5 separate regions of the Homo sapiens genome follow, and regions 2, 3, 4 and 5 are each linked to region 1. Evidence: promoter capture Hi-C in 16 types of primary human blood cells and fetal thymus (Javierre and others, 2016). All regions are on one chromosome and are shown on one strand. Each heading gives the region's core, a stretch centred on a gene start or on the middle of the fragment in contact. The rest is flanking DNA. Distances are from core to core; before and after follow the strand shown.

Region 1 (5,879 bases), core at 936-3,435:
CTATTGAAGTTAATAGAGCAAGATACTTAGAGCAAGATACTTAACTTCCTCATTTGTAAAATGAAGTTAACACCTACTTTGCATGGTTGTTGTGGAGTTTATAAATGACATATATAGAGGGTCTGACATTATCAGAGGTACTAAATATATGAGTTACTGTTACCCGTGTGTCATAAAAGATCATCAAAAAGCTTCTCTGTTTTAAAGAAATGACTTTTCATCTTGTCTGTTAAACTGCTCAACACTGTTCACCACAGTATATATATTCCTTATAAGGTCCCACAGCATAAATTCCTTTTAATATAGAAACTAGAAAAATAATTTATCTTTTGAAGAATGGATTTGTTTCCTTATTAGTAAGAATTACCTTTTTTCCCTTAACTGACTAATTTTGGGCAAAATTGGGTACTCAGTTACAAAAAGTACACCAACGCACTGACTAGTGTATTTGCCTGTTCTTATTATAAGAATAATAGCTACCTTTTTTTTTTTGAGACGGAGTCTCCCTCTGTCGCCCAGGCTGGAGTGCAGTGGTGCGATCTCTGCTCTCTGCAAACTCCGCCTCCCGGGTTCGTGCCATTCTCCTGCCTCAGCCTCCCGAGTAGCTGGGACCACAGGCGCCCGCCACCACGCCCGGCTAATTTTTTGTGTTTTTAGTAGAGACGGGGTTTCACCGTGTCAGCCAGGATGGTCTCGATCTCCTGACCTCGTGATCCGCCCGCCTCGGCCTCCCAAAGGGCTAGGATTACAGGCGTGAGCCACCGCGCCCGGCCGCTACCATTTTTTAAGAAGTTACTACTCGCCAGGCGTTGTGTCAAGTGCTTTACCTTCATTATTTCACTTAATCTTCACAACAACCCGCTGAGGCATTACTGCCATTTTTCAGAAGAGTAGAAAGGGAACTATAGCTCAGAGATGTCTGGGTAAGTGACTCAAATGTAGGTCTGCCTGACTCCTAACATCAATGATCTTAACCTTAACTCTATAATAGCGTTTTACATTTGACAATTTGATTGCATTCAGTTTTTTTTTGTTTTGTTTTGTTTTTGAGACGGAGTCTCGCTCTGTCGCCCAGGCTGGAGTGCAGTGGCGCGACCTCCGCTCACTGCAAGCTCCGCCTCCTGGGTTCATGCCATTCTCCTGCCTCAGCCTCCCGAGTAGCAGGGACTATACGTGCCCGCCACGACGCCTGGCTAACTTTTGTATTTTGTTTAGTAGAGACGGGGTTTCACCGTGTTAGCCAGGATGGTCTCGATCTCCTGACCTCGTGATCCGCCCGCCTTGGCCTCCCAAAATGCTGGGATTACAGGCGTGAGCCACCGCACCCGGCCTGCATTGTTTACGCTGTCCCTTTTTTGTTTGTTTGTTTAAGGCGGTGGGGCTCTTGTTCGACTTTCTTTACTTCTGCTATAACTGCCACGATATTATCCATTCAATAACTGAAGCAATTAGAAAACATAAAATCTCTTTTGGAAAGCAGGCGGGGTTTAATGGGTAGCAACAAGTGAAACTGAGGCCCAGGGAGGGGAAGGTTCGGCGCCTGGGCCTCTGGGCCCTAAACCTGGACCTCTCCCGCCTCTGGGATTTGGACGACCCACCCTATCCCCACTCCGACGGGGACAAGCAAGGCTCAGAGTCAGGGAACCTCCCTTCTCCCGGTGCAGACAGGAAAACTGAGGTCCTGAGAGCGGATGGGACCTGGCCTGCCCACACCTCACTGCCAACTTAGAGGAGGGCGCATCCCTCTCGGGCCCTGCAGCGACCAGAGGTTTGCCAGAGGCAGATTCCCATCGCTCCAAGGCTCATTTCCTCCACTGAGAACTAAAATCAAGTGGGCCCTTAAGGGTACTCACCCGAAGCAGAAGGAGGTAGGAGGCGGACCTTGGACGGAAACTGAAGTACACCGGCCAATCAGAAGAGCCTGGTTACGCTTGGGCCCATCAATAGAATTCGGCAGAAGGATCTTCGACCCGCCTCAAAGGTGCGCGTCTCACACTGAAACGTCGCGAGATCTTCCCTCAAGCGGAACGATTGGCTGAAGGTCGGAAATTGAGAGTTACGCCCACGGTTTCTTCAGACCTCTGATTGGTCTTCCAGAGGAGAAGTCAACGAACGTCAACCGATTCCTTGGATGCCCATTGGTGGGCGGTGCGGGACTGGCGACGCGCGGGCCACAGCGCGGGCGTTCGAACTGGCGCTTGGCGGCGTTGCCATGGAGATGCGGCCTGGCCGCCGCCGGTGGCTCCCGGGTTGACGGGACTGTTAGGTTGCGGGCTTTGGGGCTCACTCCCGACGGCATTGTCTTCTCCTCTTCTCAGACAGGGCAGACCGAGGAGTTTGGACCGAGGTGAGAAAGGGCGGGGAGAATAGAGGAGGGGTAGGTCTGGTCCGGAACCGTGGCGCCTGCCCGCGGACACGGGTGCGCGTGACGTCGGCTGAGCGCGGGAGGAAACTGGCAGTTGTGAGGGAACCGAGAGTTGGCCCCTCTTGGCTCTTCCTAAAGTTCACCTACTTTCCTATCTTTCATCCCCATATCTCTGCCTTTTCTTCAGCAATTATCTTGAACGCCACTTCTCTCACTTTGGGAGACTAAACTCTTGAGTCCCAAAGCCTTCTTGCTTTTGAACCGATAAGCCTGACCGGCACCTCTTTTAGGGCATTTCTATTCGCCCTTGGGTTGTTTACTTCCGGGAAGCCCGTTCGCTTCCCTTTTCCCATAAAATTTTGAAGCCTTTGAGGTAAGGCAAGCATCGTTCACAATGTCTTGCACATAGTAGATTTTCAGGAAATATTTGTTGAGTTGAATTTAATTTACAAGAAATAGATTGGATTCCTCTTCATGCCCTGCCTTGTTGTCTCTCTGCTTCAGAGACGATTTTTTATTTCGAGGCTAGGGGGAGGCCACCCTAATCTTCAATGCAAAAGGACCTAAAAGTCCACACACAGTCCACAGCTGGCCTTTCTACTCTTTGTGAAAGGCTAAACTTTTTTGGATTGGTTGCTGCAACTCTTCCTGCATCTGTGGCTTTTAGCCTTGGTCTCCCAATAATTTTATTAGACTCCTTTTAGTCTTTGCTTAAAATAAACCATTCTGTTGCTGTATGCCAAGATAATTTATCTCCCTTTAGCTTCTTAGTGACCGGCAGCTATTGTCACATTTTAAGTGTGCTTTGGAAAATGTTTTAAAGCATCTTCTTTGTACTTGTATTCTACAAGTAGAGAGGCTTTGTAGTCTCTCTATTGAAGTGCATATAACAGCTGCTCAGGTGAACTCCATCTATTCATCAGGTGTCTATGATAGAATTGCGTTCCTAAGACTGTTTCGTTGTTAACTCATGGATTATATATTCACAGCCTGATTGTTGGTGTGATTGCTCCTTATATCAAATTCATAGCTCACTGGTGGCCTTAATAAAAGGAGTGAAAAAGTTCAGTACAGCAGCTATGTTCTTGTTACCCTTTTATAAAAGTTTGAAACACTACCTTATAGCTGTGACATGTAGTGGAAACCCACTACATGTGGGTTTGGCTTTGGCTCTGTCTCTGTCTCTAATTCACTGTGGGTGGCTTTGCAAGTCATTTAGTCCCTTTATTATTATTATTATTTTTTTTTTATTAGAGAAAATGTCTTGCTCTGTCACCCAGGCTGTAGTGCACTAGCATGATAATAGCTCACCGCAGCCTTGAACGCCTGAATCTAGCCCCTTTAGACCTCATTTTTTCCATCTGGAAAATCAAAGAATTGAATTAGATTAAAATTCCTGTGGCTCTACTCTCAAGTCAAGTAGTTGATGTCAGGTAGACCACACACTCTCAGCCTTCCAAAGACCATACAGACTTTTTTTTTAGCTGCTGAAAGTAGTAGTTACCATTTATTGAGTGTTCACCCCGTACAAAGCACTGTATCCAGGGCTTTATATGCATATTACATTTTTCTTAGTGTAGCACATTACTGCTAAGATAGCATTTTATTTAAAATTTGTGGTTTTATATTGTTAATGAAAATCTTTAGTTATTCAGAGTGTGTCCTTGGGGCAACCTAAGGTATGAGCCTCTCAGTTTTTAGTTTAGGGAGAACCACAGTTTCTTTCTCTGGGCTGCTCTTTTGTCGTAAAGTGAGGGGCTGAACTCTTCTAGATCCCTTCCAGATCTAGTATTCTATGATGCCTGATATATTAATCCAGTTTCCCTATGCTGGCTCAGCAAACCAGTTTATAATTTGCACAGTGTAGATCCTCAACACATTTTGTTAAATAAATAATAGAGTTCTACTTCTTAAACCTTGAGTGTATGGTCATTGTATACCTCCCAAGTTACTGTCTCAAGGGTTTTGATGTTCATATCGTGTTGAATAAGAAGAGTTTTCTGTAGGTATAAACTAATAATAATAGTATAATATATTGTTGAGTGTTTATATATCAGACACTGAATGTAGCAGTTAATTTACATTATTCTAATTAACCCTCATGAAAGGAAACATTTTTTCCAAGTCAGCATTTTTTTTTGTCAGTTCAGTGCAGTAGCTTCCTAAATGATCTCCCTGTTTCCACTTTTGCCCACCTGCTGTGATCCATTTCCTCACAGAACTGGGAGAGTGAACTTTGAAGACGAATCATAGCATATACTTTCTCCACTTAAGATCCTCTAATGACTTCCTACTTCACTTAAAAGTAAAATTCAGACACTTTTATGTGGCCCAGTACACCCTACATAATCTGGCCCCTACCTTTCTCTCCTCTTCTCATACTATTCTCCTTCTCACCTACTATGCCAGCCAACCTGTCCGTGTTTGATGGCTTGATTTTGCCATGCTCATTTCCACCTTTGGGCTAATGTGCTCACGTGGAACCCTCTTCCTCCTGATTTTTACATAAGTGACTCCATGTTATTTCAGGTTTCACCTCAAATATTCCCTTCTGAATGAAGCCTTCTCTGATCATCCAATGTAAAGTAAGCCCTGCACTGGGCTTTATTCTTCGGTAGTGATTATCATCATCTAAAACTACCGCTTATTGATTATTAATTATCTCTTCCCATTAAAATAATAGTGTCATGAGGGCAGGGACCTTATCTGTTTTTTGGGGGGTTTTCTTGAGACAGGCTCTTACTCTGTCGCCCTGTTGCCCACACTGAACTGCAGTGGTGTGATCATGGCTCACTGTAGCCTCTGACTCCCAGGCCCAAGCAATCCTCCCACCTCAGCCCCCCAAGTAGCTGGGACCACAGGCATGTACCACCATGCCCAGCTAATTTTGTTTATTTGTAGAGACAAGGCCTCACTATGTTGTCCAGGCTCATCTCAAACTCCTGGGCTCAAGCAATCCTCCCTCAGCCTCCTAAAGTGTTGGGATAACAGGCATGAGCCACTGTGCCTGGCTGACCTTGTCTGTTTTGTTCACTTATATTCCTGGTGCATAAAACAGGGCCTATCTCATACAAGTCTCTCAAAAAATATTTCTTGAAGATTGGATAAAGTTTCCTCTTGGAACTGTAACCATATCTGTGTCCATATCAATTCATTTGAGTAATACAAACTTGCATAATTTTGGTGTCCAGGAGCAGTGACTCAGGGCACCAGCATCTCTGTCACAATTTTCCTGAGTAATCAAATTACCCTGATAAATAGTTTCTACCACCCGTTACCACAAACGATATCAAATGCTTTTATAGAGTTTTAATATACTGTAGGGATATTTATTCATTAAACAATTATTGAATATTATTTCCAATCACTCTTTTATTTATTTATTTATATTTTTTTCTGAGATAGTCTTACTCTGTTGCCCAGGCTGGAGTGCAGTGGCGCAATCTTGGCTCACTGCAACCTCTTCCTCCCAGGTTCCAGCGATTCTCATGTCAGCCTCCTGAGTAGCTGGGAT
Region 2 (5,879 bases), core at 1,053-3,552, 360 kb before region 1:
CTTGGAGGGTATGTGAAAATGCAGTTTGCTGGACCCCATCCTCAGAGTCTCAGATGTGGTAAGTGGGAAGTAAAATCTAAGAATTCGTGTTTCTAACAAGCTCCCAAGTGATGCTGCTGCTGCTGCCCAAAGGCTACTCTTTGAGAACAACTGCCACAGGGGAAATTATTCACTGCCAGAACTGCAGCAAGATGAAGGATTTGGGGAATTAATACCCCTCTCTCCTTCCACCACTGATCAGTTGCTGCTTCCCATGGGCCAGCCCCAAACAGAAGCCAGAAAGCAGGTGACCCTAAGTAATGCTATCTGCAGAGGTCAGCCTTCCAGGGAGCAGAGCAGGGCCGTGAAGAGTGGAGAATGGATAGGCTGGGGCAAACAGAATAACCAGAACCATCATGGACAGAAGAATGGATAGATCAATGGAAAGAGGGGTGGATGGATGAATTAATGAACAGATACCTGAATAAAAGGATAGAAGGCCAGGCACGGTGGCTCACGCCTGTAATCCCAACACTTTGGGAAGCGGAGGCAAGCAGATCATTTGAAGTCAGGAGTTCGAAACCAGGAGTTCGAAACCAGCCTAGCCAACAAGGTGAAACCTCACCTCTACTAAAAATACCAAATTTAGCCGGGCATGATGGTGGGTGCCTGTAATCCCAGCTACTCAGGAGGCTGAGGCAGGAGAATCCCTTGAGCCCAGGAGGTGGAGGTTGCTCTGAGCCAAGATCGTGCCATTGTACTCCAGCCTGGGTGACAGAGTGAGACTCTGTCTCAAAAAAAAAAAAAAAAAAAGGACAAAAGAAGAACAATGGCTAACAGAGCTTATTGTGCGTCAGCCTCTAAGCTAAGGGCTTTACTCAGGGTTCCTCACTTAATCCTAAGAAGTAGATCTTCTACCATTCCCATTTTACAAATAAGGACACTAAGACACAGAAACTGGAGAATTTTCACCTTGTCGCAGTTAGTAAGTGGTGGAATCTGAATCCCAAGCTAGGCGCTCTGTCTGCAGAGTCTCCCTCCTCTGCACCGTGACTACCCGTGCTGTGCCATGACCAAGTGGCAGACAGGCGGTGTGGAGTGGAGGTAAAGACTGCAAACCCTAGAGCACACCTGGGTCCAAATCATGCTCCAGTACTTACTAGCTGTGTGGCTTTGTGCTCTGAGCCTCATGTTCCTTATGTGTAAAATAAGAATAATAATGTGAAAATAAGAAAAACTACATCAATGGTATTGTTTTGGGAAAGTTAAGCAAGGTAATAGTGGTAAAGTCCTTGACATAGAGCCTAGCACATAGTAAACAATCAAAAATACCATTACTATTATTATGATTAATGAATGGAAAGAAGCTAAGTCAGAAATTTAAGAGGGAAATGTTCCCCCTCCCTCTCTCCATCCAAAAGAGGGTCTAGGGTTTGGGTGACGACGGGTGACTGGGCGTTTCACATTTAGTTTCTCTTTCAAGGCCTTCTCTTCTGACCTTTCTCATAAGGATGGGAAGTCACTTGTCCCCTCCCCCATCGGCCGATTCCTTGAAATTTTAAGATTTGTCTGAATATGAGCTGGCCAGCCCCTCTCCTTAGAAATCCCCTCTTGGTTCCCAGGACTGAGAAAAGGGGGAAAATGAAGGGGGCTATTCCAAGCCAGTCTCCCTCCAGCTGTTCCTTTGACCCAGGTGTTGGACATAGGAAAACAGTAAATAGAGGAAGGGGAGGGTTTGCTGAGCCCCAGAGGCCTGAGATGTGGGATGGGGGTCCTGGGCCTCCTCCCAAGGTACCTGGCCTTTCAGCTCTGCTTGCCCCAAGGGAAGGACTGGTTCCCACATAGTGGGCAGGCACAGTGATGACCTTGGAGGCCACCCCAGGATCTCATGGTTGTCCTGAGGGTGCCAGGGAGCCTTCTTCACCACCAGCCCAAGAAAGAAGCACCAGTGAGGACAAGGGATAAACCTAAGGAAGGGAGCACAGTTCCTCACTGTGGGCCCCACCTTTGACCATCACTTCTGAACCCCAGCTTCATGGTTGATGATGCAAATGCCATCAATGGGATGACAGGGCAATCCCTCTCTCTGGAGAAACAGTGCACAGCCCCCTTTACTGGGCCAGACTGCAGACTTAAGTTCTCAGAGCAGGAGCCAAGGAAAGCAGAAGGAAAGGGCAACCGCAGGGGGAAGAAGGGGGGCAGGGTGCGATTCTGCCAGAAAGAGGGGGGCAACAGGGGAATCACAGAATGGGACATGAAGGGGAATTTCAGGCAGAGAAAGTGAAGCTCTGGCCATAAATAGGAGTCAGCTGCAGGGCTCACATTCCCAGCCTCACATCACTCACACCTTGCATTTCACCCCTGCATCCCAGTCGCCCTGCAGCCTCACACAGATCCTGCACACACCCAGACAGCTGGCGCTCACACATTCACCGTTGGCCTGCCTCTGTTCACCCTCCATGGCCCTGCTACTGGCCCTCAGCCTGCTGGTTCTCTGGACTTCCCCAGGTAAGGCTGAAGGGAGAGTCAGGGTCAGAGGCAGTGGGGGGCTGGCAGTGGGTAATGTCTAGATCTCAGATTGCTTGGCACTGGACGTAAGGGACATGGTGAGTTCAGGCAAATGCTTAGGTCTGTATATTTCGGTGAGCCTGGCAGGTCCCTGCATGTGTGCCTGTAAGTGTGGGTGTCCCTGTGCCCCTGAATCCCAATGCGGGTGTGTCTTTTAGCACATCCTGGGGCCTATGGCTGTGACTGTCTCTGCAAGCTCTATTTCCTGCTGCCTCCGTTTCCCAGGCAGAAGGAGATTTGCTTAAGGTAGGGAGAATGGCAGACACTAAGCCAAGGCTGATATTCAAAAATTTTAGCAATTAATAAGGCTCCTAACACCAGCCTACCCTACCCCACGCCCCTCCCACACTGTGACCTGCATTAACTCTTTACTTGCTGGATTGTCCTGGGAGAGAGGTTGGGGTGATCAGGGCAGCAGGAAGTCATTTGTGGGGCTCAGGGCAGTGGTTATTTACAAAACAGTTTAGAAGTATGACAATATATTTAGCAACCAGTAGAGCCAGAGCCATATTGGTGCATAATGGCTGAATACCAGGTCTAACTCCTCCCCGACCCCACCAGACACACACACACACACACACACACACACACACACACACACACACAGGTGTCCTCAATCCGAGCTAGGGCCATGGCCATGCCACCCTCAAGGGTCCCTGTGTCCTGTCACCTTCTTTCCCCATCCCAGCCCCAACTCTGAGTGGCACCAATGATGCTGAAGACTGCTGCCTGTCTGTGACCCAGAAACCCATCCCTGGGTACATCGTGAGGAACTTCCACTACCTTCTCATCAAGGATGGCTGCAGGGTGCCTGCTGTAGTGTGAGTTGTGGGGAGGGTGTCTAGCCTCATCTCCCGTTTTAGCCCCTGTTGAGACTCCCACCTTCTTATTCCCCTTCTCCATGCCAAGCCCAACCCCTTCAAGGAAATCCCTGAAACAGGTTCCCAGACATGGTCCCCAGGCATGCTGGATTCTGGGGCTCCATTCTCTCCGGCCTCTCACCCCAGGTTCACCACACTGAGGGGCCGCCAGCTCTGTGCACCCCCAGACCAGCCCTGGGTAGAACGCATCATCCAGAGACTGCAGAGGACCTCAGCCAAGGCAAGCCTGGCCCTCCCTGGCCCTGTCTCCTCCCTCTGAGCTCCTGTCTAAGATTCCAGCCCATGATCCTTCCTCTCCTTCCTCCTCTAGATGAAGCGCCGCAGCAGTTAACCTATGACCGTGCAGAGGGAGCCCGGAGTCCGAGTCAAGCATTGTGAATTATTACCTAACCTGGGGAACCGAGGACCAGAAGGAAGGACCAGGCTTCCAGCTCCTCTGCACCAGACCTGACCAGCCAGGACAGGGCCTGGGGTGTGTGTGAGTGTGAGTGTGAGCGAGAGGGTGAGTGTGGTCAGAGTAAAGCTGCTCCACCCCCAGATTGCAATGCTACCAATAAAGCCGCCTGGTGTTTACAACTAATTGATCACAACCTGTTACAGATTTCTTTGTTCTTTCTCCACTCCTACTGCTTAACTAGCCTTAAAAAAAAAAAAAAAGGCACCTGGCACCCATAGATCTGTCTGCTGTCCGTTTGCTGTCTAGCCAGGTGGACAGGAATAGGAAGGGGGAGGTGGAATGGCAGGATCTATTTTCTCTTCTGTGGCCTAGGGGGTCTCCTTGCTCACCTCCACTTAACAACCTGATGCTCTCAGGATCAGCCTCATTGCTTTCCATAGTTCAGCGACACTAAGCTTGGGTCAGTTCCCTGAATGAGCCAGCGTCTCATGCCTCCCACTCTTTGCTCTCCAAGGCAGGTGTTCAAGCATCCAGGTGTCTAAGGAATCCAGTGTCACTGGGGGGAAGGGAGTTGTGGGGAACCAGCTCTCACGGCTGGGGGAGGTGGAGTGGGGCAAAGGGCCCAGCTCTACTGCCTGGGGGAAAATACCCATCCACCCATGCCCTTCCCTTGGTCTGGCACACTCTTCTCTCTCCTCTGCCCACCTGGCTTCCCATCTGGGTCCAGACGCCTCTTCCTCCAGGAAGCCTTCCCTGACCCCAGGCTGGGTTAGGTAGCCTCCTGCAGTGGCCCCTCACAGCATTCATCACCCTGACTTATAGTTGCTGGTTTGTCCAAATTTGTCCATGTTCTTGGACTGGGATCACATCTATTTTGGGTTCCACTGTTTTTGTGGTGTCCAGCATGCTGCTTGGCACAAGGCAGTCCCTCAATAAATATTTGTTTAGAGAATGAATAAATATGTGAGGAAAGGCTCAGCAGCCAGGGCTGAGGGTCCATCTGTTCATTCTGTCCATACAGAATCTGACCTCCAGGCCAGCCTTCCTCTCTCAGCCAAACTGAGCAAGGTCCAGCCCCATCTTTGCAATCCTGGGGCCATGCCTCTCAGGGACACCGACAGACAGACCTGGGAGTCAGAGGTCAGAGACAGGAGAGAGGCCCACGGGGTGGAAGAAGGAGTAGCCAGGGAAGCACAGGAGATTCCACATAGAGGAGCCCTACCACCACCCCTACAGTCTACATGGGCTCCAGGGCTCAAAGGCAACACTGAGACCAGAGACATCTCCCCAGATGAGACCAGAAAGGAATCTCAGCTCTGGGAGATGAGAGCCGTGTGACTCTTGGAGCATCCCACAGGGCTTCTCTGTACAGAGTGAGTGCCTCGTACTTGAGAAGTCTCCTGGGGAAGCAGGCTAGCCTCCAGACAGTGTTCTCTAAGGGCCTCTCCAGCTGGGAGTGACAAGGCTGTGCCACTGGGGTCAGATGACAGCAAGGAGGCCAGATTGAGCACCCTTGCTTGGGAAGAGAGGTGTCATTATATCGGGTATACGTCAGCCAGCAACAAAACCAGGCCTGGGCAGGCCTTGAAAAGGGAGAAATGGTGAGGGAGTTGTGAAAGCCCCTCCTCACTGAGAGCATGACATCCTCTTCCTCTCCTCTGCTCCCAGATGCAGGTGCTCAAAACCTTGGGTATCCCAGGTCTCAGAATCACCTGGAATACCAGGTGGGTGGGAGGGATAGGGATAGTTTTCAAGAAAAGCTGCAATAACCCATCCATTCATGCATCCATGCATCCATTCATTCAGCTGTTTCTGCATTCATCAGACCTCCATCCAGCCAACTGTCCACTCACGCACTTCCCACCCAGCCATTCTTTCATCCATCCACCAAGCCAGCCAGCCATGGCGTTCTAGGTCTCCCAGCTGTGGACCCCGTGCCCCGCATCCCAGCAGGCTGGTGTCTCAGAGGACAAACACACATGGGAGGGGAGCACATTGCCTGAAATCCTTCTCAGTGCCAGTGACATTTAGAGGAAGTCAGCCTGCCACAGAAG
Region 3 (5,879 bases), core at 2,345-4,844, 330 kb before region 1:
AAGGTGTAGCTCCAAAACCTGACCTGACACCTATAAAAGAGGGTCCTTTGCCCGCATCTTAATCAACCGACCCCGCCCCTGGCCTCACCCCGTAAGATGACGTTTCGACTCCGCCTCCTCTGGGAGACATGAACACCCCACCCCTTCCGGGGGACAGGCAAACCTAGTGCGCAACGGCATCCCTGTGACGTAATAGTAACGGTCCGTTTCCGGGGTGGAGCCAGGGAGGGCGGGAGTTTAGGCTGCGCTGACCCCTCTCAGCCCCCCCTCCAGGTGACCCCAGCCCCTGAAAATCCTCACCCAGGGCCCCAAATCTCCCAGCCCCATGACCGCCAAACCTCTCGCCCTGGCCCCCTAAATGCCCCAGGCCCCGGAGATGACCGGCCTCCTCACCCCTTAACTTCCAGTGCCTCCCAAATCTCCAAGCCCACCCTGTCCCGTGGTGGCAACTGAGGCTTCTCGGGGGCATCAGCCTCAGATTACCTGAGAACTGGGCAGCCTCGTCCTGAGAATGACGGAGAAGGGGACCTGGGGCTAGGGAATCCCTGATTCAATCATGCCGCTCCCCAGGAGACGTTCGGAGCCCAGGACATGTCGGGAATGAGGAGATACGAGGTGGCGCTGGAGGCGGAGGAGGAGTGAGTGGAGGCGGGTTCTGCGGAGGAGGAACCAGGCGGCTCCGGGGTGGGGGAGGGTGGAGTTCTGCGGGGGCGAGGGGTGGGCAGGGCGAGCCTCCCAGGGGCGTGGGCGCGAAGGGAGCCGCTTTTAGAGGCGGGGCGGAGCCTTCCTCGACGGCGAGGCACCGCGGGGCGGAGTCTGTAGGGTCAGCTCCTCCCCGCCCCGCCCCGCCCCGCCCGGCTCTGCCCTCTCTCTGCAGGATCTACTGGGGCTGTTTCTACTTTTTCCCCTGGCTTCGCATGTGGCGGAGGGAGCGGAGGTGAGGAGGCTGCGATACCGCGGACCCGCCCCGGGCATGGACGGGACTCAGTCTCTGAGGACCCATCGGGGGGAATCCGGTAGCTCCCGCCCCGCCTCATGCCAGTGTCGGGTCGCCCCACAGCTCGGCGCACCCCGGGGAGCAGAAGCTGGAGCCTCTGCGAGGCCTGATGAGCTGTCTGTCCAGCGGCCTGGGTCCTACTCCCCAGCGCTCGGGTCGTGGCTTCCCCCGCCGCAGCCCCACCGCCGCTGCCCAGCCAGCCAGTGCATTAAAGATTTAAACCGAAGCCCACCGTACTGACCTCCTGACTCTGCCGCCGCTGTCGCCATTCGAGCCGAGCGCCCCTCCCCACACGGGCTCTGTTCCGTACTGACAGGGCGTCCCTCCCTGGAAGGGTGCCCTTCCACGTCAAAGCCCCTCATCAGTGTCAGGCCTCCTGTTACTATCAATGGCTGTCTCCCCCAATCCCAACCCCCAAAAACCCATACTGTGAGTCGCCTATATGAAGAGAACTAAATAATCCTGCCTGTTACTCCCTTCCTCGGAGCGAGGACTTTGCCAGCTGTCTGAAGAATCTTCTCTGCTGGGAGTATATCTAAAACATTTTAAGCAGAGGTGTAGGATGCAGGCTGTAAATGGTAAGAGGGGGAGATTCCTAGAAGCTGCCTGCCACAGAGGAGCGACTTGGGTTGGCGACCTTTCCTACAGTTCATACCCCAACTTTTGGCTCCTCCAGTCTGATCCCAAGTTTAGAGATCCTTGGCATCAGCCTACCTAGAAGTTCTTGCTCCCTCCCTAGGAGAGTCCAAGGGCCACTGCTCTTTGCCGCCCCCTTCTGTCACCCAATCAGCCTGGGACCCACTAACTCCTCAAGTGGTGAGAATCAGGGACTGCTATGTGGGCCTGCCTTCAGTTAGGGACTGGACCCAGCACCAGAAAGGGCACCACAAGATTAAGTTAAAGAAAGAGATGGCCCAGTTTCTGGCTGGGGCCAAAGCTACAGCAGATTGTGGCTGGGGAGAAGACTTGGTCTTAAAGGGGAGAGATGGGTGCACACCCAAAAGCATTTGTTTTCTGCCTTCCGAAGACTTCTGGACCGACAAGCCCAGGGAAGACCAGAAAGTATGTAGCGCACAGCCAAGTGATGAAGAAGGTCTATGACAAGCCCGAGGAACCTGGGAGATTTCCTTGGGATTTCCTCAGTGGCTACACCCAACAAGCCTTGGGACACAAGAGAAAGGCCTAAGCCCTATCCCAAGAGAAAGCCTACTCCATAGAGAGTGGCTGACCCTACAGCAGACGACTGCAACAAGATAAGGGCTGGATTACTGTGTTATGACTTGGTTTATGTTTCAAATATAGAGCAGGACTTGCAGATTGAGATCCCTGGACCAGGAGTGGGAAATTCTTAAAGGAGCCAGGGGCACTGAACTTGGCAGCATACCCCCACCCTAGGCAGCTCCCAGCTTCCTGGAAAGGACTGGATAAAGATGAATAGGAGCTTTGCATTGCAGGGAGGGGGTAAAGAACGGAGTGACAGCTGGGTATGGGATTAGGAGAGAAGCGGCTATAGCTGGAGGGTGGGATGCAGGGGGTATAGCAGTTGGACATGAGGGTGTGACTGAACCCGGGTAGGGAGAGGGGATGTTCCTCCAGGCCCAGGAAGGAGGCTGGAATTTGAGTAAAACAAAGATGTAATTGAGTGCTTGAGTCCAATGTCTTCAACAAGTCAGGGACTGGATCTGGAGACCCTAGGCCCCTGCTGGCAAGAGGTTGGCATTCCTGGAACAGGACTAGACAAAAACAGGAAGGTAAGATTCACTGGGCCTTTTACCTGTTTTGACAACAGTAACCTAGCACCAAAGAGCTTTTATCTTCCCTCCTTATCTACCCCACCTTTCCTCCCTGTCTCATCATCCTGGGGAAAGCTGCCCCACCTCAGCATCTCCAAAACACCCTTAATATTACCATAAAGGGCCTTCCCCCAGCTTCTCTGAATGGGGCTGGCCTCAGCCAAGAACCCTCCTCAGCCAGAAGGGCCTGCTCTAGGGACCCATTCCCATCCATTTCTTCTGATAAGACAGGCAGGCCAAGCCAGGAAGTGGGGAGGAGAAGGTGAAGGCAAGTTGGTGCTTGCCTGCCCTCTGCTCCCACCCCACCCACAACTCCCCTGTCAGAATCTGTGTGTGCTAGTGTGAATTTGCTTGTGATTGGATGACTGTGAAAACACAATTGGGTGGGAGAGGGACTTTGAGTATAACCGGGGCTATATAATTTTGTCTACGGTTGTCTGATCATGAGTATGACTTTGTGAGGTTGACCAAGTGATTGAGGAGTGACTTTGAATGTGTGGCTATGCGTATTTGAGTGTGAATGTCTATCATTAGATGCTGCTGTGGATGCTTGACTGCCCTTACTCACTGTTCCATCAGTCCCTACATCACACACTAATCCTTCCCCCAGCTTCACTGCCCAGAGCTTAGGAGCACATGGGAAATGGCTATCCTAGATGAGGAAGGAGTCTGTGGCAACAGGCCGAGAATTAGGGCCCAGGAGTGTCACAGGTTACACAGTACATCTCCAACTGCCTCTGACTCACCTAGTGCCCCAGGTAAAAGGCACCCAGATAAAAGGTAGGGGAGGAGGAGAGAGAGAGAAGGAAGAGTCTAGGCTGAGCAACATGAAGGGGCCCCCAACCTTCTGCAGCCTCCTGCTGCTGTCATTGCTCCTGAGCCCAGACCCTACAGCAGGTGAGTACTTGGGGGTATAGAAAGCTGGGGGTCTGGGTGAATGGGATGAAGTTGAAAAGACCCAGGAAATCCAACCTAACCTCCAGCTGTCTGGCAGAGAGGTTCTTGGTCAGGATCCCTCTGAACACATGGCCCTGTTGCCCCTAGCATTCCTACTGCCACCCAGCACTGCCTGCTGTACTCAGCTCTACCGAAAGCCACTCTCAGACAAGCTACTGAGGAAGGTCATCCAGGTGGAACTGCAGGAGGCTGACGGGGACTGTCACCTCCAGGCTTTCGTGTGAGCTCCCACCCCTGATACCCCTGACTCTGACCTCAGTCCCAACCCCTAATGCTGATCCCAACCCCAGCCCTAACTGCTAATTCTGTTGCCAACTCAGGTTTTCATCTGGTCCTTGCTCCTAACCCCTAATTAGGGTCATTGGGGATGACCCTAATCTCATCCCCAAGCTATGGTCATAGCTTTGGACCTTTCTCTACCCAGGCTTCACCTGGCTCAACGCAGCATCTGCATCCACCCCCAGAACCCCAGCCTGTCACAGTGGTTTGAGCACCAAGAGAGAAAGCTCCATGGGACTCTGCCCAAGCTGAATTTTGGGATGCTAAGGAAAATGGGCTGAAGCCCCCAATAGCCAAATAATAAAGCAGCATTGGATAATAATTTCTGAGTATAATCTCCAAGAACTTCCTTATTCTCTTTATTCACACCTGCACAACCCCTGCAAGGGGAAAGGCCAAGAGCCAAGGACCCACACACACTCCCCAGGCACCTACATACATGCATGCAGAGAATACATGTTCCCTGCCTCACAGACACATGGTCACACATGGACACAGATGTACACATTACACACGTTCCTTGAGCAGAACTCCAACTCTGGGGTGAAATCAGAGGTACAAGCACCTTTCAGCTGCAAATTTGAAATACAGGGTCTCACAGAAATGGGCTCCAAACAGAACTTCCAGCTGAGATCCAACCATAGGGATCTACTGTCCTGCCTGGTTTCTATCCACACCAGCAAGACAGAATTATAGGTGGAATCTGCCGAAGCCCTCCTGGGTCCTCTACAGGTTTGGAGCTCCTAGAAGAAGCAGGAGGCAAATCAGGAGAGACAGTAAGACCGGATCTTGGCCCAGACACCCTGAGAATGAGGGAGGTGACTCAGTTCTAAGCTTAACACTCTGAAGATGAGTAGAGGAGCCCAGCTCTGAGGGAGCCTCTTCAACACACTGAAGATACGGGAGTGGACCTAGCTCTGGGCCCAGGCACATTAAGAATGAAGGAGGGGACCTAGCACTGATCCAAGACACCTTGAAAAAAAAGGATGAATATCCAGCTCTGAGTCTAATACCCTGGAAGAGTATTAGTACTAATACTAATACCCTGAAGGGAAGTCCACCTGGGGTCCTTCCTCAGTACCCTGAGAGGAGGGAAAGAGACCCACTTCTGAGCCCAGGGACTCAAGAATGAAAGGCCCAGCCCTCAGCCTAGACATCATTAAAATGAGGAGACCCAACTTGGATTCCCAGCATGTTTTAAAATGACTAGGGCAGCCAGCTCTTAATCTGGACACTCAAAATAGGGGCAAACATCTCCAAGTCCAAATCTTCTGGATGTCCTACTCACCTGGACGCCTGTCCACTGGAATCACTGAGGCCAAGAACCCAGGCTTTGGGGATCCATCCTTCCCACCCCGTCTCAGCCTCAGCCTGGGGCATAGAAAGGCAGCTGTCTCTCCAACAATGTGGGTTATCTCAGTCTCCGCCAAAGGGTTTATTAGTAAAGGGTCAGGAGAGGAATCAGTTAAAATCAAGTGGGGCATGGGGGATGGAGGTATGGGGAGGTAGTTCCAGAATCAGACAGGTTCAGCGGGCAGTCATGAAGGGTGGAGATGAATGTGGTCTATGGGCATCAGAGCATGTGTGAGGATCAGAGGCTGAGGGACCAATGGCAGTCACTTACCAGAGCCCCAGTGCCAGGGCCCCAGCCACCAGTCCCAGGAAAGAAAGGATTCCCAAAGACGCCAGCACAGCTACCTGCTCCACAGAGTCCCTGTGATCTGAGGGGGAGGGCCACATGTCACTGAGAGCAAGCCTGACCAAGCTCGGTGTCCCCTTTTCTCTGGGGTTTTCAGTCCTTTACAAGTCTTGCCCATCTGCCCAAGCTCACCAAGTAGCCGAGGGTGTGGTTG
Region 4 (5,879 bases), core at 2,853-5,352, 310 kb before region 1:
AAACCCTGTCACTACTAAAAATACAAAAAGCTGAGCATAGTGGCAGGTGCCTGTAATTCCAGCTACTTGGGTGGCGGAGGCAGGAGAATCGCTTCAACCCGGGAGGCGGAGGTTGCAGTGAGCCGAGATTGCGCCACTGCACTCCAGCCTGGGCGACAGAGTATGACTCAGTCTCAAAAAAAAAAAAAAAAAAAAGTGACAGCATGTAACAGCAGTCATATCTCACCTTCCCCCACCCCCATGGAGCCAAATAATTACCCCTTGAAGCCACTTGCTATGTGGGCTCTAAATTGATACCACATAGCCATAAAATGCCATAGTCTAGACACCATAACTCATACCCTATAGTTCAACAAGGTATAGCCAATCACTAATCAATGTTGTTTCTGTAAGCCAATGAGAATTCCTGTTAAACAATTTTGTGTCAGCCCACTCCTTGTCCTCTTTTGCCTTTAAAAACTTGCTTGTGGCTGGGCATGATGGTTCATACCTGTAATTCCAGCACTTTGGGAGGCCAAGGCAGGATGATCCCTTGAGCCCAAGAGGTCAAGGCTGCAATGAGCTGTGATCGTGCCACTGAACTCCAGCCTAGGTAACAGAGCAAGATCCGGTCTCAAAAAATAAAAATAGGCCGGGCGCGGTGGCTCACGCCTATAATCCCAGCACTTTGGGAGGCCGAGGCGGGCAAATCACGAGGTCAGAGTTCAAGACCAGCCTGGCCAACATGGTGAAACCCCATCTCTACTAAAAATACAAAAAAATTAGCTGGATGTGGTGGCAGGTGCCTGTAGTCCCAGCTACTCGGGAGGCTGAGGCAGGAGAATTTCTTGAACTGGGAGGCAGAGGTTGCAGTGAGCCGAGATTGCGCCACTGCACTCCAGCCTGGGCGACAGTGGAGACACCATCTCAAAAAAAATAAAATTAAATTAAGTTAAAATAAAGTGGCCAGGTGCAGTGGCTCACACATGTAATCCCACACTTTGGGAGGCCGAGGAGTGTGGATCACCTGAGGTCAGGAGTTAGAGACCAGCCTGGCCAACATGGCAAAAACCTGTCTCCACTAAAACTACAAAAATTAGCCAGGCATGGTGGTGCACACCTGTGGTCCCAGCTACTCGGGAGGCTGAGGGAGGAGGATAGCTTGAACCTGGGAGGCGGGAGTTGCAGTGAGCCAAGATTGCACTACTGCATTCCAGCCTAGGCAACAGAGTAAGAATCCATCTCCAAGAAAATAAAAAATAAAAATAAAAACCACATATAAAAATAAAAAATGCTTGTATCAACATTCCCCAAGGCAACTTGGAAAAGTGTCCCGAGCAGTCGTTCTCTACCTTGGCCCAAATAAACTCTCTATATTAATTTTGCCTCAGCTTTTTTTTTTCCTCACTGTTGTTTTTGTTTGTGTGTTTTTCTTTTTTGAGACAGAGTCTCACTCTGTCGCCCAGGCTGGAGTGCAATGGTGCAGTCTCCACTCACTGCAACCTCCACCTCCCGGGTTCAAACGATTCTCCTGCCTCAGCCCCCCAAGTAGCTGGGCCAAGTGGGTGGCACGCGCCACCGCGCCCGGCTAATTTTTGTATTTTTTAGTAGAGATGGGGTTTCACCATGTTGGTCAGGCTGGTCTCGAACTCCTGACCACGTGATCCACCTGCCTCGGCCTCCCAAAGCGCTGGGATTACAGGCGTGAGCCACCCCGCCCAGCCTGTTTTGTTTTTTTTGAGACGGAGTTTTGCTGTTTCACACTGAGGCTGCAGTGCAATGGCGTGATCTCGGCTCACCGCAACCTCTGCCTCCTGGGTTCAAGTGATTCTCCTGCCTCAGCCTCCTGAGTAGCTGGGATTACAAGCATGCGCCACCACGCCCAGCTAATTTTGTATTTTTAGTAGAGACAGGGTTTCTCCATGTTGGTTAGGCTGGTCTCAAATTCCCAACCTCAGGTGATCCACCCGCCTCGGCCTCCCAAAGTGCTGGGATTGCAGGTGTGAGCCACAGTGCCCGGCCCCTTTTTCTTTTCTTTTTTTTTTAGAGACAGGGTCTCCCTCTGTTGTCCAGGCTGGAGTGCAGTGGCACGATCTTGGCTCATTGCAACATCCACCTTCTGGGTTCAAGCGATTCTTCTGCTTCAGCCTCCCGAGTAGCTGGGACTACAGGCACCTGCCACCACGCCCGGCTAATTTTTTGTATTTTAGTAGAGACGAGGTTTCACCATGTTGCCCAGGGTGGTCTCGAACTTCTGAGCTCAGGAAATCTGCCTGCCCACCTTGGCCTCCCAAAGTGCTGGGACTACAGGTGTGTGCCACTGTGCCTGGCCCTTTTTTTTTTTTTTTTTTTTTTTTTTTTTGAGGCAGAGTCTCCCTCTGTTGGCTCAACTGCAACCTCCACTTCCCAGGCTCAAGCGATCCTCCCACTTCGGCCTCCTGAGTAGCTGGGACTACAGGTGTGCGCCCCCACTCCTGACTAATTTTTGTACTTTTTGCAGAGATGGGGTTTCACCATGTTGCCAAGGCTGGTCTCGAATACCTGGACTCAAGTGTTCCGTCTGCCTCAGCCTCCCAAAGTGTTGGGATTACAGTTATGAGCCACCTCGCCCGGCCTCAGTTTCTTTCTTTAAGGTCAAAAATGTATGAGGCTACTTTTTTCCAGTTCCTTTATGTTTTATATATATAACCATCACATAAAATTCTCACCATGTGAGGCACTAACTGCTTTATAAATATTAACCCATCTAATCTCATCACAATGAAGATATGTACTATGAGGTAGGTACTTATCTCCATTCCATTTTACAGGTAAGAAAACTAAGTTACAGAGATTTTAAGTAAACTGCCCAAGATCAGACAACTAGTAGGTAGCAGGAGCCAGGCCTTGAACTCAGGCAGTCCAGCTCCAGAGTTTATTTCTTAATCACTGCACAATGCTACCTCTTTTCTCTTTTGTTTCTTTTCCTTTTTGCTTTCTTCTTCCTCTGCCTACCCTTTGCTGTTGGTGCTCTCCAGGGCTCTGTCTTTAGCCTTATCTTACTCTATTCTCTCTCCCTGTGAGATTTCATCCATTCTTAGAGGTTTTCTGTAGACTCTCCAGTGAGATCTCTAAGCTGGGGAGTAGGACCATTGTTTCTAGCCATATCCCTAATGGCCACCACAGAACTTGGCACATACAAGTGCCAACAAAGTATCTGAATGAATGACAACTCCCAGCTCTATCTCCAGACTGGAGCTGAGCTTCGAGACCTGGACACTCAACTGCCCACTAGACATGCAAAGGATGTTAGCCAAATAAGGGGAAAGTGGGGATAGGATAAAGGGGGAAAGAGTATTCCAGGAAGAAGAGATCAAGCCCTGCCAACTCCATTTCCAGAGTTGTTAAGCTCATTTCTTTCTTCCATCTCCACTGACACAGACCTTCCCTCTTACCTGGCCCACAGTCATGGTCTCCCTGACTCATCTTGCTCCCCTCCACTCGACAGTCCTGTGCCACTCGGTGGCAAAATCTAATCCCCTTCCTCCCTTGCTGATAACCCTCAGCTGGTTTACAAGGCCTCCTCTCACATTTTGTGCCGCAGAACAGAGAAGGAATTGTAGGCCCCTGAAGACCCCAAGCTGTCTCTCCTCGGAGGCCTTTGCTCTAGGGGCTGGTCCCTGTGGGCTGGCATGCCCCTTCTGCGAGCTCTTAAAGACACTGCTCAGGTGTCACCGCCTCTGGAATGCCCACCCTGGGGCTCCCAGCTTGAACTGCCTCCTCTCCGCTTCAGTCCTGGTAAAGGCGGGCCTTAACAATCGTTGAGTCCCAGAAGGCTTCACTTCCGGGCTCGTCTGCTTCACCAGCCAGTGAGCTCGGGCGAGCCCGTCCATTCTGGGTCTCACTATCCCCACACCTATCCGTATGTAGAGTGGCGCTAGCTAGGTCAGACCTCGCCTGAAGACCCTGACATCTGCCGCTGGGCGACTTGGCCCCGCCCCCTTGCCTCCCTTGCGCGGCACCGCCCCACTCCTCCGTGCTCCCCCCGAGGAAATGGTTCAACCGAAGGGCGGTGCCAAGGTGCCCGGGCCGCTCCGATTGGTCAGGGCGAGCCGTACCACGGCGGTGGCGGGGGAGCGCTTCGTGGGCAGCCGGCGGGCTCCGAGGCCGTGAGCGCAAAGCCTCAGGCCCCGGCTCCCTCCTGAGCTGCGCCGTGCCAGGCCGCCCGCCGGGATGCAGTGGGCCGTGGGCCGGCGGTGGGCGTGGGCCGCGCTGCTCCTGGCTGTCGCAGCGGTGCTGACCCAGGTCGTCTGGCTCTGGCTGGGTACGCAGAGCTTCGTCTTCCAGCGCGAAGAGATAGCGCAGTTGGCGCGGCAGTACGCTGGTGAGCGGGCAGAGGGCAGGGAGGGGAGCGGCCGGCCTGGGAGCGGAGCCTAGGGTTCCGAAGGCGCCATCCCCGGACCTAGGACCGGTGCCAGCCCTGACTCCGCCGCCCCTCTGCCTCCGCCAGGGCTGGACCACGAGCTGGCCTTCTCTCGTCTGATCGTGGAGCTGCGGCGGCTGCACCCAGGCCACGTGCTGCCCGACGAGGAGCTGCAGTGGGTGTTCGTGAATGCGGGTGGCTGGATGGGCGCCATGTGCCTTCTGCACGCCTCGCTGTCCGAGTATGTGCTGCTCTTCGGCACCGCCTTGGGCTCCCGCGGCCACTCGGGTCAGTGCTAGCGGCGGGCCAGACTGGGAGGCTGGGGTTGTAAAGGGGCCCATGCCCTCCTTTCTGATGTTTGGCTGGGCCATGCAATGGCGCGAATACCCTGATAGTGTCATGTGCGATTGTCACTCAGGGCGCTACTGGGCTGAGATCTCGGATACCATCATCTCTGGCACCTTCCACCAGTGGAGAGAGGGCACCACCAAAAGTGAGGTCTTCTACCCAGGTGGGTAAGAAGGCTCTGTCAGAGAAGTGGGTCCCTTCACGCGGGGGGTGCCCACAATTGCGGGGAGCATGGCATGGAAAAGGAGTGTGTTGGGGGGGCCCTCCTCATGGTTCCCTTCCTCCACCCTCCCATAAGCCACAGGTGATTGGTTGGGGCAGAGCTGAGGGACTCTTGCTTTCCTCTGTCAAGGGGAAACAAAACATAACAACTTCCTATTAAACATGTCTGATTTTTATCTGCCCAGGCACAATTTTGCCCAGACAGTATTCCAACAACTGTTGGGGAGACAATGGGTAATCAGAAATGCTCTCAATACCCCAAAAGACAAGACAGACAGTTATCTTTTTATTTGTTTGTTTTTTGAGATGGAGTCTTGCTCAGTCGCCCAGGCTGGCGTGCAGTGGCGCGATCTCGGCTCACTGCAAGCTCCGCTTCCCGGGTTCACGCCATTCTCCTGCCTCAGCCTCCCGAGTAGCTGGGACTACAGGCGCCCGCCACCACGCCCGGCTAATTTTTTTTGTATTTTTAGTAGAGACGGGGTTTCACCATACCAGCCAGGATGGTCTCGATCTCCTGACCTCGTGATCCACCCGCCTCGGCCTCCCAAAGTTCTGGGATTACAGGTGTGAGCCACCGCGCCCGGCCGCTCCCCTGCCTTTTTTTTTTTTTTTTTTTTTTAATAGTGAAACAATTTACTTAAGAAATAGAGCACTGGACTTCCCAGTATATTTGAGGTTGGGTGTATGCATCGCAGGCATGGTGGTTGAACAGCTACACTTTTCAGATAAAGCCTCACAAGTCCTGGAACTACCCCTTTCCTAGCTACAAGCCCAGCCCAGGTTTAGCTAAATTTCTGCTTGATTCGAGTGAGGCTTGGGAGTGCAGACTTCCATACAGTGGGTCCATGGCCAAGCGAGGTAGCCGTCCATGGCTTCTCCAAAGAGAGGACGTGGGTCAGATGATGCCACAGAACATTTAGGAGTGGCC
Region 5 (5,879 bases), core at 1,686-4,185, 290 kb before region 1:
GAAAGGTGCGAGGGGAGAATGGTAGAGGTTTCGGGGTCTCTGAGGTTTAGGTGGGCGCTAAGATATAGCAACCATTAAAATGTGAGGATTGAGGTCTGGGGAGGCATTGAGGTATGGGAGCAGTAAGGTCTGACGGGCTTCTGAGGTTTGGGGGTCACTAAGGTTTAGGGGTCCTGAGGTTTGCGGCCAAATGAGAGCTCTGGGGTACGGGTTACTGAAGTGTAGGGGCTGAAGTTCAGGAAAAGGTCCTTTTTTTTCTTTTTTTCTTTTTTTTTTTTTTTTGTGAGACGGAGTCTCGTTCCGTCGCCCAGGCTGGAGTGCAGTGGCGCGATCTCAGCTCACGGCAACCTCCGCCTCCCGGGTTCAAGCGATTCTCCTGCCTCAGCCTCCCGAGTAGCTGGGACTACAGGGGCCCGCCACCATGCCCGGCTAATTTTTGTATTTTTAGTAGAGACGGGGTTTCACCGTGTTAGCCAGGATGGTCTCGATCTCCTGACCACGTGATCCGCCCTCCTCCGCTTCCCAAAGTGTTGGGATTACAGGCTGAGTCACCGCGCCCGGCCAGGAAAAGGTCCTTTAATCACAGCAACTCCATTCCACACATGTCCACCCAGTGCTCCTATTTGCATATAGTTTGTGCCTCTTGTGACCTGGATTATTTAATAACCAACAGCCAAAAACAATCCCCCAAATTGTCTAGACATGTACCTTGATCCTTTGGGCTCTAGAGAAAAGCTTCAGCGCTTCCAGGCTGAGGCTCTGGATGGGAAGATAGATCGAATGAAGGATGAGAGATTGGTACATGAGCTTGAGTTACCTCTTTTGGTCCCAGGCCTGGGGGAGAACCAATGCAGAGATGGGTTGGTTTGGCCAGGGGAGCTGAATAACCTGTTCTTCTAGAGGAGAGTGGAATTCCAAACCCTTGTCTGGCACTGCCTGTGGGCCTGGCACTGGGACCTACACGGGAGAAATTGGCACCAGAGGAGCCCCCAGAGAAGAGAGCTGTGCTGATGGGGCCTATGGACCCACCTCGACCTTGCATGCCCCCCAGTTTCCTGCCCCGTGGCAAGGTTCCCCTGAGGGGTGAGGAGGGGCTTGTTGTGAGGGGGCTTCGGGACTGTACACTGAGGGAGGATTGACCCATCACCTGATAGGTGTTAGAGACGGGGCAGACAGATTCCTCTGTAGACAACTGTGTGAGTATAGGTGTGGGGCTGAAGTGGAATGGGGGCTGTCTACGGGGATGGAGGGGGGAAATTCTATTAATAAGTCAGAAGTCTGATTCTCCAAAATGTGATTCCTCTGCCCCCTCCTGGACAGAAGAGCGGCTGGATGGGCCTCTTAATCTGGCAGGCAGTGGCATCAGCAGTATCAACATGGCCCTAGAGATCAACGGGGTGGTCTACACTGGTATGGGTACTGCAGGCTGTCTACACTGGCATGGGGTCAGGGGTATTTAGGCTGGCATGGGGATTTTAGACTTCCTCTACTAGCATGAAGTTCAGGGATATCTAAACTTGCATGAGTAACATGGAGTTCAGGGGATTGCTAGACTGGCATGGGTTAAAGGGGGTGTCTACATGGCATGGGATCCAAGGCATGACCTCTCTGGCATGAGTACCAGGGGATGTCTGCCTTGTCTTGGGCCTATGTATCAGCATAAATATTCCTTGTTTACCTGTTTGAGGTATCTACATTAGCAATGGAGTCTCTTACTGACCCAAGGAGCTTGTCCTCATTGGTTTGTGGCAGGGGTACGTGTGTAGTGTTCTAGCAACCAGAACACTTACTTTTGTTCCCCTCTTCTGTTTCCATACCCTACCCCCTCCTGCTTGTTTTTGCCCTCTACCATCTCCTCACCCCTTTGCCAGGTGTCCTCTTTGCCCGCCGCCAGCCTGTGCCAGCTTCCCAGGGTCCAACCAACCCTGCACCCCCACCCTCCACAGGGCCCCCTTCCAGCATCTTGCCCTGAGAGGTCCTACTTGAAACTAAGAGTCCCAGCCCCATTGCTGAGGGGGGAGGAGACCCCCTGCTTTGATTCTTTCTGGCTGCCCACTCTGGGACCCAGCCCTGGGAGGGGACGACACCTCCCATGCCATGTGGACTTAAAACCAAAGTTTCTTTTGATGTTACACCTACCTCATTGTAAAGGGAGGGCACCTCCTCCCTGGCCAATTCCAGCAGCACCTACCAAAGGGTTCTTCCTCCAGTAACCCCATCATCTCCTCATGTGTTCCCTCTGTCAATGTCATCTCTAGGACCCTACCCTTTTGAGTCAGCCCTGCTTCTCTTCAGGAGCCAAGTGAAAGGTTGGGTTGGGGTACTGTGAAAGAGACATCCCTCAGGTCACATCTAGACAATAAAGCTGCGGTCCCTCCCTCTCTGATGCCTCCTTTCTTGTTTGGGTATGGGAGGTGGGGAGGAATGATGTGGAACATAGGCTGCCTTGGGCCAGGGGCTTTCAGAGGTTAAGGCAGAATAGCAAAGTTTCGTGAGAATAGAAGAGCTCCGTCTCTTGAATCAGACAGCCTGAGTTCAAGTCCTGTTTCTGTCCCTATAGTGCTGGGTGGCCTTGGGCAAGTTACTTAATCAACTGAACCTTAGAAGACTCCAAAAGTTTATGGTAACTCACGGAGCCTCCTAATGATGTATCTATGGGAATGGACCTATCCTGGAACACGTGCAAACTCAGGGAATGGCGTGGGGAAAGCTCTTTGGTACCCGAAAAGCAAAGGTTATCTTGACAACCAGGCACTGGAAGCCAGGGGAGGGATGGGACAGAGCCGTTGCCAAGGTAATCAGCTTTTGACAGCTCCGAGGAGTAACTTCCGGCACTGAAGGGCTGAATCATGGCGTCACTTCCTGCATAAAGGGCCGCTCGTGCACTCGGATTGGCTAGCCTTCTTATTTGGACTGACGTCCCGCCCTCTGGCTGTTTCCTGGCCGAGGTGGGTCGGTAGTAGCGATGGCGGGTCTGACTGACTTGCAGCGGCTACAGGCCCGAGTGGAAGAGCTGGAGCGCTGGGTGTACGGGCCGGGCGGGGCGCGCGGCTCACGGAAGGTGAGTAGTCTGGTCCGGTAGTCCCTTTCTGGAGCAGAGCAAGAGCGGTCCACTGTCCTGGCCCTCGGGATGCAACCGCTCCAGTCCTGTTCTCCGCAGCCCGGCCTTTGAAATAACAAAGGTCCGGGACCTCCCAGAGCTGATTGGACCATCGGGGTCCACTGTCATAGGGGGCTCTGCGGGTGGTTAAGCCAGCCTGAGAGTGGGCTCCGTACCTACTGTAGCTGAGACTCCGCCCTTGCCCTCGCGAGCTATAGTTGGGGAGACCTGACACGAGAAGCTGACTAATGAGAGTTTCAATAAGAGCTGAAGTCCACGATAGGAAGGCCCGTCATAGAGCCCTGCATAATTAATTGCTAAATGAATTGTGCAGGAAGAGGTCCATGGGACCCCTGGGGAGGCAGAGCAGAGGTGGATAAGGAAAACGCCAAAGGGTGAGAAGTGAGGTCTGAAAGGACCAGGATTAGGAAGGGAAGAGACTGGGTACTGGGTATTCAGATGTGGACTAGCACTGCTTTATACCAGTGACAGAATTTTGACAACTACGAAGCTCAGGTGCCCTCTCCTCCCCTTTCTACTATGGGAAGATCTTTTATTGAAGAACTTCTGATGGCGTGTCAGGCATGTCCTGGAGCTAAGTGCGTCCAAGGTAATGATGTCTGTTTGTACACTAAATGAGGAATTAGTTGTCACTAGCAGACTGTGCTCCCATTTCAGAACTAACTTCTCAAACATTCTCTTCCTTTGGGATCTATGACGCTGACCCTCCTGGTTTTCCTTCTACCTCTTACGGCTGCTTCTCAGTGTTATTTGCCTCCCCCCTGGCATTCCTCATCCTCTACCCTAAAAACTGGGTGAGTGCAGTCACTTCCTTAGTCTCCTCCTCTATTTGACCCTTTAATATTGGGATTCTTTACATTCTACCCCTAAACTTTAGGTAGGCTCACTCGCTTCCATGGTGTCAATTACTATTTACATGTCAATATGTCTCAAATGTATATCTCTGGTCCAGATTTCTGTTCTGAGAACCAGACTTTTATGTCTAGTTGTCTACTGGACTTTTCCACTTGGATATCCAATAGTCATTTCAAACTCAATCTGTATGCCCTTAACTGTACTCTTTCTCTCCCCTAACCTGATTCTCTTCTGTATTCCCTAATTCAGTGATTGCACCATCATTGGGATCCCAGTTGTTTGGACTCTTCCATCTCCCACACCAAATTTGATGTGGAGGGGATAGGGCTAGAGGTAGGCCAGCCAATCTAGAGGTCATGAAGGCTTGAATGAGGATGCTTGTGTTTCTCATGCCCAAACCCAGGACTTAGGAACCAGAAAATATATTGTGTATACTCTATATTCCATAGACTCTAAAATAGTTCGTTATCTTCCCCATCAGACTTGAAACTCCCCAAGGAGTACATGATTCTCTCTCTCCACTTTAAGGATTCCTGGAAGGTGGGGCTGCATCTCCTTTAATATTAGAGAAGGGAGGCCAACCTAGATTACTGGGATTCAGGTTTGAGAGTCTGGGAGAATGAGGGTTCTTTAACTTTTCCAAGCCTTGAGCCAGGTAGTATATCTTGGAATTAACCACCACTTCCCTTACAGGTGGCTGACGGCCTGGTCAAGGTGCAGGTGGCTTTGGGGAACATTTCCAGCAAGAGGGAGAGGGTGAAGATTCTCTACAAAAAGAGTAAGTGCTTCCATGATGTGCCTGCCTGCCCGACATCCCACCCCTCAGCTTCCTGGTACCTGGCCCTAGCCCTTCAGTTCATTAGGTCACTGGAATAGCCCTTTGGGGATAGAAAGATTATGAGGACATTTACCTACACCCAATTCAATTGGTAAATTGTGGTGTGCTTTTCTACCTTGTGGCTAAACCTCAAGCCCATGACAGTGTCCTAAGTTATGAAATAAGAGCTCTACCTGAAAGCTTCTCTTGGTGAAGGAGGGTAAAAAGGGTATGGGATTTCCCAGGCAAGGTTAAGGGGCAGGAAACAAATTAGACACTGAGATCCTGGTTATGTCAGAACTAGTAACCTGCTTAGTAACTAGAAATTAGACAAAGCTCTGGCTTGTCTCGGTGACATCTAGGAGAAAAGAGGCCTTCTACCCTTGGTGAGGATAGGTCAGTGAGAATGCTAAGGGCCCAGAGTGGTGGTGGCAATTGTGTTTTCAGCTCTGAAGCTTGATGTCAGAAGAGACTTCAAGAGAAGAGAGTGGAGAGATAGGGAAGTGGGGATAGGGAGCCTGGTGGAGCCCTGCTCATGTGGCACTGTTGGGTATCAGCTCCTCATTGAAGGCTCTCCTCAAGGCTGACCACTTGTCAAACATCCTTCATAAGGCAGAGCTCTACTGCCCAACCCTATTCCATTTTCCATCTTGCTACTTTTCTAGTTGAAGATCTGATCAAGTACCTGGATCCTGAGTACATCGACCGCATTGCCATACCTGATGCCTCTAAGCTGCAATTCATCCTAGCAGGTAATGCTGGACTACATGTGTACATGCATCTGAGGATGTGGGTCGTCGGGGAGGTTAAGCACAGAGATGGCCTCTCCATCCAGTCTTCTGGTGGATACAAGCCCTGGATGCTGCTCTCTGGAATTGTGGCCTGGTTCTGGGTTGAGGATCCTATGGATCCTCTAGTAGACATTGAGTACAGTATACCTCTGCACCAGCTGCAGGCCATGGTGCCAGCCACAGTGGGAGCTAGTCCAGTGTTCTATCAATAGTTTGCCTCTTGGATTTTCCTTCAGAACCTTCCTCACTTCTGCTCACTAGACAGAGGAGCTTCTAGGAAAGGGTAGGGGCAGAG

The links. The method cuts DNA at HindIII sites, captures the fragments that hold promoters and counts their contacts. A CHiCAGO score of 5 or more calls a contact.
Region 2: a contact is called between the fragment with the promoter of CCL19 here and the fragment with the promoter of KIF24 in region 1, in 8 of 17 cell types (naive CD4 T cells, neutrophils, fetal thymus and 5 more). The highest score is 9.3, in naive CD4 T cells.
Region 3: the fragment with the promoter of CCL27 here is called in contact with the fragment with the promoter of KIF24 in region 1 in 1 of 17 cell types (neutrophils); the score reaches 6.0 in neutrophils.
Region 4: the fragment with the promoter of SIGMAR1 here is called in contact with the fragment with the promoter of KIF24 in region 1 in 10 of 17 cell types (fetal thymus, naive CD4 T cells, M2 macrophages and 7 more); the score reaches 9.6 in fetal thymus.
Region 5: a contact is called between the fragment with the promoter of DCTN3 here and the fragment with the promoter of KIF24 in region 1, in 17 of 17 cell types (naive CD8 T cells, M0 macrophages, non-activated CD4 T cells and 14 more). The highest score is 19.5, in naive CD8 T cells.

The regions. Positions count from the first base shown.
Region 1 is chr9:34,325,574-34,331,452 of GRCh38, reverse strand. KIF24 (kinesin family member 24) reads left to right here and starts at 2,185. Exons shown (of 13, transcript NM_194313.4): 1 at 2,185-2,347. It overlaps NUDT2 (nudix hydrolase 2), which reads right to left and starts at 1,884. Exons shown (of 5, transcript NM_001161.5): 1 at 1,854-1,884. RefSeq lists enhancers at 1,939-2,128, 1,664-2,171, 2,259-2,358, 2,459-2,518. The HindIII fragment of the contact is 30,936 bases long and covers 194-5,879 here.
Region 2 is chr9:34,687,699-34,693,577 of GRCh38, reverse strand. CCL19 (C-C motif chemokine ligand 19) reads left to right here and starts at 2,302. Exons shown (of 4, transcript NM_006274.3): 1 at 2,302-2,487; 2 at 3,236-3,368; 3 at 3,555-3,648; 4 at 3,739-4,008. The coding sequence starts at 2,439. The coding sequence ends at 3,759. It also overlaps a transcript of PHF24 not described here. The HindIII fragment of the contact is 13,722 bases long and covers 1-4,282 here.
Region 3 is chr9:34,660,372-34,666,250 of GRCh38, reverse strand. CCL27 (C-C motif chemokine ligand 27) reads left to right here and starts at 3,594. Exons shown (of 3, transcript NM_006664.4): 1 at 3,594-3,687; 2 at 3,835-3,967; 3 at 4,172-4,361. The coding sequence starts at 3,618. The coding sequence ends at 4,307. IL11RA (interleukin 11 receptor subunit alpha) reads right to left here. Exons shown (of 13, transcript NM_001142784.3): 10 at 5,858-5,879; 11 at 5,651-5,747; 12 at 5,315-5,397; 13 at 4,349-4,769. The coding sequence ends at 4,753. LOC730098 reads left to right here and starts at 206. Exons shown (of 3, transcript NM_001320038.2): 1 at 206-638; 2 at 878-937; 3 at 1,061-2,088. The coding sequence starts at 592. The coding sequence ends at 1,217. It also overlaps a transcript of PHF24 not described here. RefSeq lists a silencer at 632-881. The HindIII fragment of the contact is 12,066 bases long and covers 1-4,862 here.
Region 4 is chr9:34,636,010-34,641,888 of GRCh38, reverse strand. SIGMAR1 (sigma non-opioid intracellular receptor 1) reads left to right here and starts at 4,102. Exons shown (of 4, transcript NM_005866.4): 1 at 4,102-4,342; 2 at 4,469-4,669; 3 at 4,800-4,892. The coding sequence starts at 4,192. RefSeq lists a silencer at 3,863-4,352. The HindIII fragment of the contact is 14,478 bases long and covers 1-5,879 here.
Region 5 is chr9:34,617,551-34,623,429 of GRCh38, reverse strand. DCTN3 (dynactin subunit 3) reads left to right here and starts at 2,935. Exons shown (of 7, transcript NM_007234.5): 1 at 2,935-3,061; 2 at 4,670-4,754; 3 at 5,459-5,545. The coding sequence starts at 2,966. ARID3C (AT-rich interaction domain 3C) reads left to right here. Exons shown (of 8, transcript NM_001017363.4): 5 at 1-5; 6 at 901-1,083; 7 at 1,321-1,410; 8 at 1,872-2,381. The coding sequence ends at 1,972. The HindIII fragment of the contact is 4,259 bases long and covers 738-4,996 here.